Regions from separate parts of the Homo sapiens genome. Here region 1 is linked to region 2. The links are contacts of gene promoters, found by promoter capture Hi-C in human tissues and cell types (Jung and others, 2019). All regions are on one chromosome and are shown on one strand. Each heading gives the region's core, a stretch centred on a gene start or on the middle of the fragment in contact. The rest is flanking DNA. Distances are from core to core; before and after follow the strand shown.

What was found. Contacts are between HindIII fragments. The study calls those that stand out against the background at their distance.
Region 1: a fragment that was not itself captured here is called in contact with the fragment with the promoter of UBE2C in region 2 in 3 of the 25 tissues and cell types used here (dorsolateral prefrontal cortex, liver and thymus).

The regions. Positions count from the first base shown.
Region 1 is chr20:45,092,315-45,095,590 of GRCh38, reverse strand. It overlaps KCNS1 (potassium voltage-gated channel modifier subfamily S member 1), which reads left to right. Exons shown (of 4, transcript NM_001322799.2): 4 at 251-3,276. The coding sequence ends at 721. Among named protein-coding and RNA genes, the nearest start is that of KCNS1, 7.2 kb to the left of the region's middle. The HindIII fragment of the contact is 5,760 bases long and covers 1-3,276 here.
Region 2 is chr20:45,810,759-45,813,969 of GRCh38, reverse strand. It overlaps UBE2C (ubiquitin conjugating enzyme E2 C), which reads right to left and starts at 1,326. Exons shown (of 6, transcript NM_007019.4): 1 at 1,174-1,326; 2 at 506-533. The coding sequence starts at 1,274. It overlaps DNTTIP1 (deoxynucleotidyltransferase terminal interacting protein 1), which reads right to left. Exons shown (of 13, transcript NM_052951.3): 12 at 3,030-3,085; 13 at 2,552-2,913. The coding sequence ends at 2,775. RefSeq lists a silencer at 1,334-1,523. The HindIII fragment of the contact is 8,392 bases long and covers 1-3,211 here.

The DNA.
Region 1 (3,276 bases), core at 622-3,121, 720 kb after region 2:
AAACAGCTGTAGCCTAGCAGATACCTTGGACAATAGAACTTAGGCCTGTGCGCAATACCAGGGGGTTTTGCTGCCAACTGTAGTTGAAAGGTCTTAGTTTAAAGTCAGGGGACCTGGGCCTTAGCACCAGCTCTATCTTGCTGACTTTGGACCTGTCCTTTATACTCTCTGGGCCTCAGTTTCCCCATATGCCTAATACCAGGACTGTAAGCCCATCCACTCTGACTTGGCTTTCTACATTCTCTTTCAGCACAGCTACCGTGAGGTGGGCATCTTGCTGCTGTACCTGGCTGTGGGTGTGTCAGTGTTCTCTGGTGTGGCCTACACAGCTGAAAAGGAGGAGGACGTGGGCTTTAACACCATCCCAGCCTGCTGGTGGTGGGGCACAGTGAGCATGACCACCGTGGGCTATGGGGATGTGGTGCCAGTGACGGTGGCTGGCAAGCTGGCAGCCTCAGGCTGCATCCTAGGGGGCATCCTGGTGGTAGCACTCCCCATCACCATCATCTTCAACAAGTTCTCCCACTTCTACCGGCGCCAGAAGGCTCTGGAGGCAGCCGTGCGCAACAGCAACCACCAAGAGTTTGAGGACTTGCTGAGCAGCATTGATGGGGTGTCGGAGGCATCTCTGGAGACATCCCGAGAAACCTCTCAGGAGGGACAGTCTGCAGATCTAGAGAGCCAGGCCCCCAGTGAGCCTCCACACCCTCAGATGTATTAAAACCAGGGATCCGTGACCCCCTGCCATGCCCCTACAGTAGAGATTCCTCCCCTGCTAAAGTTCTTCATGGTAGTGAGCCTCCCAGGATCACTCATGCTGTCCTGAGAAATGAGATTCAAAAGCTGCATTCCTTCCTCCAAAGGCCCAGGACAGGACAGTGCTACCCTAGATTCTGTGAGATTCTGCAAGCAACTCAGAAAGCTTTATAAACCTGCCTCCAAGCCATTCATGAAGCAGGCATGAGCCAGAGGGAGGAAGTTGAAAGGATACTAATGATTCCTGAGCACCTCCTGTACATGAACCAGGTCATGTTTGGCCTTGTGTTGGAGAAAGAGAATTATCCCCACTTCACAGATGAGGAAACCAAGGCTAAGAGATGAGCGATGCCTCTCCCAGATGTCACAATTAGAAGTGGCAGAGTCAGGTTTGGAATCTGGGCTTGTTGGTGTGCCTGGAGCAATGCTCCATCAACTCCATCTTTCTTCTGCCCTCATGAAGTTTGCGTGTGTTTTTTGGTGATTCATGGATCCCCAGAGTTGATCCACAAGATAAGAAATCCCTTTCAGAGCCAGGGAAGGGTCCAGACAGGAGATTTGGATATAGGAGCTCTGGATCTCAGCTGTGGTTCCTTTCTAGGAGCATCCAACAGGAGTCAGCAATCAAAGATGAGTCCTGGAGGGAAGGAGGATGAGTCCTGGGAGGAAGTACCATAGCATTGTACTTGCCTCTTTAGCTGGTATGCAAGATTTGCTAAGCAATAATCTTCCGACCTTCCTCCCAGGGCTGATGTGAGAGAAAGAAAATCTGAAGGGCCCCTGGCCTGAGATCTAGACAACCTAGCTGCGCCAAGACCTGCTGTGTAAAGTGGTCCAATCCCTGCCCCCAAGTCCAGATTCCAGCCCCTCTGTCAAATGGTCAGAATCTGTGACCCAGAGGGCAATGAAAGCCAAGGAGAGCAGAGGGGTCTCTAACTTAAAGCCAGCTCAGCTCTGAAATGTTCAGAGGGCTGACATATATGAATACTGGCTTCTAAGACCCTCCCCCAACAGTCTGACCTTGGCAGTTCCTTTCTGCCCATCACACAGACGTCCAGCCCTACATTGTCCAGCCCTACCTAGAGTACCCATCCAGGCCCATGTGTGAGAGTCCTCTCCCTTCTGGCCAGCTCCAGCCCCCTCACCCTTGCTGGGGGCATATCTCTCATACCCACCTGCTGAATCTTCTCTTCACTTGCTGAGAAAGTCAGAGGAGGGGATCCAGTAGCCCTTTCCACATACTGTGGCTACAGCACCCAGCACTGTGCTGTTGTTGTCTGACTGTGGCTATCTCTGTCCCATCACCCTGAGCCTCAAGATGGAAGACATTGTCTGCTTGAACTCTGGGCTTGGTGCAGAGTAGGTATTTGGTAAATGTTGAATAGATCAACCAATTCCTACAGCCCACTGGGTGCCAAGCTCAGAGGGGGAAAAAAAGATAGCCAGAGAGAGACCTGGCCCTCAAAAAGGTGTGAACAAGACTGAAAAGGAGGTCCGTTCAGCTCCGCCTGCCCTGTCCCTGCTTGGTTCTTGAAGTTTTTACAATATATTCCTTGTAGGTTCTTCACTCACTCACTCAACAAATACCCGTTGGAAGAGTCTTAAACTGGGGCTTCATGTGTGGCCTGCAGTCATGTTTCGGCTTAGTCCAACAGTGTTTTTATTATATTTTAAGAATCTGAATGCCTTTGCGTGAGGCATGCACTCTCAGGTTCCCCATAGTGTCTCCCCCGCTGCCACCCACAAACAGACACACATGCCGTTGTGTTATGCCCAGCCACTCTGATATACTGGCTTCTGACTTATGGGCTGCTTACTAGTCTCAAGAGATACAGTGGTGGAAAAATATATCCCTATACTCATGAAGCTTACCGACTAGTAGGGAAGATAGACTCTAATGCAATAATCACATAAATATAGCGAGCTCTACTAAGTACAGGTGTGTATAATGTATCAGGGACCATGGCCCGAGAAAGTGAGAAGGCTTTCCTGAGCAAGTGACAATCTAACCTGCCATCCAAATGATAAATTGCTAATTAAGCAAATGAGGTTCCAGGGGGGAGTACTCCAAGCAGAGAGAATGGCATGTGTGAAGGTGTGTGTCATACACAGGGCCTAGTACATAGTGGGCCCCCTACATACGCATGGATTCTGGGTCTCCAGATTGGAACAGAGGATGGAGCTAAGCAGCAAAGGGCCTCCCTTGAATTCACCACACACATACCAGCCCTTCTGCACACTCTGCTCCTTACATCTAGGCCCAGCTGAACCCAGGTTAGGGGCAGATCAGAAGGGCTGCGTGTAGCACCCTTATGGTCTTGCAGAACACACCAAGAAACCCGACGGCTTCCATATTTTCTGACCCTACAAACAGGTCCCTAATACTGATGTGGAGAAAGCTCAAGAGGGAATCATCTGGCCTGAGCCTACCATGAGGCTGTTTGTGGTCCTGGCAGAAAAGCAACAACTCGCTCCCCTTCCCATGTATCAGTGAAAACCATTATGCAAATAAAGAGCTGG
Region 2 (3,211 bases), core at 77-2,576:
CCATGCCTGGATAATTTTTGTATTTTTAGTAGAGACAGGGTTTTGCAATGTTGGCCAGGCTGGTCTCGAACTCCTGACCTCAAGTGATCCGCCCACCTTAGCCCCCCAAAGTGTTGGGATTATAAGGTGTGAGCTACCGCGCCCAGCCTCCCCTTAATCTCATCACTCTGATCCAAAATAAAGCAACCAAATTCATAGGCTAGAAATACCAAGAAGGGCGGGGAGTTGGGTGTGGGTAAAGCTTGGTTGGGGCTAGGAAGTAGGGACACACTGGATAGGGAGGGTCTTGTATGACTTCAGGGAAGTGTTCGAGATAACTTCGTGTGGGGGGATGGAATTGGGAGGAGGGACTGCTGGAAGAAATGGTGTAGGTGGGGTGTATGAACTTCTTTCCCAGGAGGGAGCAAATTACATTACCCCTATGTCTAGCAAAAAAGCTGACGGAAAAAAGGAGGCTACTGAAAATTGGATGGAAGGCTGGGGTTCTGGGCACTTAATCACTCACCATGAGGGTCATCAGCTCCTGCTGTAGCCTGAAAAAAGAGTATTCGGGGTTACCTGGGAGTCTGGATGGGCCAGGCCTCCAGACGGTGCATCTTCTCCCACCTGAATCTCAGGGGGAGCCGTCATGGAGGCTCCCCACATCACCAAGGTCAGGCTCAGCTCAGGGTATACTCACCAGATCCACAGGACGATCCTAGCGAGTCCTCACCCTCCCTAATTCCAGACTCCCTCGGGATGATTCTGGCATGTTCTTAATTCCCCAGGCTTTAGCATCTCTTCCTTGCCCGACTCAACTTCTCCCTTCCCCTGTCTCGGCCAAGTCACGAGGGTCCTTGAGCGTCTTCATCTAGGCCCACCAGGGAAGGAGTCTGGCAGCGCCCCTACCCTCCCATTCTCCTTCGGGAGAGTCTCAAAGAGCGGTCTGAGCTCCTGGCCTGTCCCCCATCTCTCGAATCTCACCCGCGCAAGGAGGTGGGAGTCCCGGAAGTCTCCGCCCTCGACACCCATGCCCAGGGGAATGCCAGGCCCCGAGCTCCTGGTGTGTTCTCCTGCACCCGCAGATCTCCCGCTCCAGGAGGTGGCGGCGGGGGGTGGTCCTAGAAATCTTTGCTCTGGGTACCAATGCCTAGGGCATGGCAGGCCCGGCGAGTGGTAGGCCGCATCACTCACCTTTTGCCCACCGGACCCCGGGCGGCGCCCCCGCTCGGCTCAGCTCCTTTACGGGCGGCGGCGACGCTAGTGGCGGCTGGGTCGCGGTTTTGGGAAGCCATCCGGGCGGCGTTGGCAGAGAGACAGGAACTCGGAGAACACGACTGCAACTGCAGGACTGCGGGCCCGCCCGCCCGCGTTTGAATTGTAACCCTCTGGGGGCGTCGACCAATCAATGGCTCGCTTGGGTTTGATCCAGCCAATGAGACGCTCCGGAGCGCTCTATTGCTGCGCCACTGCTAGACCTACCCACTGGCGCACCGCTATTGGGCGGCAGAATCCCGCTTCTGACAACCGATTGGTAGATGATGCTGCCATTAACTAACGAATCCGTAGCGAATTGGTGGCCGTTGGAAAACGCTAACCATTAAAGGGCCAAGAAAACGTCCACGTGGGATGAACCCCTCCTTCTGGCTACACGTCTTACTCCGCGTGGGAACACTCGGCACGCCCAGCCTTGATCCAATTTCCCTCGGGCAGGGAGTGCCTCCAATCCTGCAGCACTGGTACCCTCCCACCATTATAATCGCCTGGGCACCTTTGCTGCGTCCTAAGTATCTGAAAATCCCAGCGAGGGGAAAAACTAAAGGCTGATGGCCAGAGCAGCAGGCTCCCTATTAGAAAACATAGGTCCATACATCTCCGCAGAGATGACAGAAATAAAAAAAGGCAACATTGGTTCAGGCTGGTCGCAGTGGCTCACGTCCGTAATCCCGAACACTTTGGAAGGCCCAGGCAGGAGGATCACTTGAACCCAGGAGTTCGAGACCAGCCTGAGCAACAGGATAGGGAGACCTGTCTCTACTTAAAAGAAAAAAAAAAAAAAAGAAAAGAAAAAAAAAAAAGGCTGGTGAGGTGGCACGAGCCTGTAGTCCCAGCTACTGGCGAGGCTGAGGCGGGAGAATCGCTTGAGCCAGAGGCTGCACTCTAGCCTGGGCAACAGAGCAAGACTGTCTTCAAACAAACAAAAACCCCAACAACACAGGTTCATATCCTGTATATCCTACCTCCCCAGTGGGTAGTGTGTAACCTTGGGGCGGGTCCTTTAGTATCTTAACCTGTAAAATGGGAGCAATAAAAGCCAACTCTATTTTTCATATGATCTGTCATCAAACTCCATCGCATTCTGCCATGTCCTTACATTAGCTGGGTAAGGAAACTACAAATGGGCAAAGGGAAGACGGGCAGGGTACATGGTGCTCCCAGGTTGGTCTTATCAAGCCTGGCTCTATACTGTTATGGGTGAGGGTTATCTCGTCCTTTTTTCCTACACCCACTTCTAGAGCCCTTGATGTTCTGTCAATTCCCACAAGGTAGAGGGCACAGCAGGTTCACCATCTGTGTTTACTACAAACTGTTTAATTGTTTCTTATCCCAATAACTTTACAAATATAGAACCACATGCTAGTCTGGGGGTGCTGTGCAGTGAGTCACTACAAACTCGCTCAGGCACAGCTTAATGCCGCTGAGATCCATCTAGGAGCAGTCCCAGCGGTGGCCTCAGCCACGTGAGGAAGAGGGCTTTGGAGGAGGGCTGCCAAGTGTGGCCAGGGGACCCGGCCTCAGGTCTGTGGAGGTGCTTCAACAGCACGATGCTCATTCTCTGTCCGTAGTGTCTCCATATACTTTCTCATCTTCTCCACCATCCAGGAGGGTAGGACAAAGGATTTCAATTCCTCTAGCTTCAGATCCAGGCATCCTCTGGAACAGACATTGAAGAGAGAAGTTGGGGGAAGTGAGGATGTAGGCCCTGCCTCATTCTAGGGGCTATTTGGAGGCAGGGAGAGGAGAAGGGGCAGGAGACCCACTGGTTTTACCTGTAATCATCACTGGCCGCAAGGTCCCGGATGTCCTCCTCGATGAGGAGGTAGGCCTGAGGCAGGAGCAAGGGAGAGTGGTCATTGCCTGATTCATTTCACTCCAACTCAGTAACACTTCATTAAACATCTGTTTAATGTAAGGCCTGCTACTAGGTGGAAGCGGGGGATGCGGTTTACAA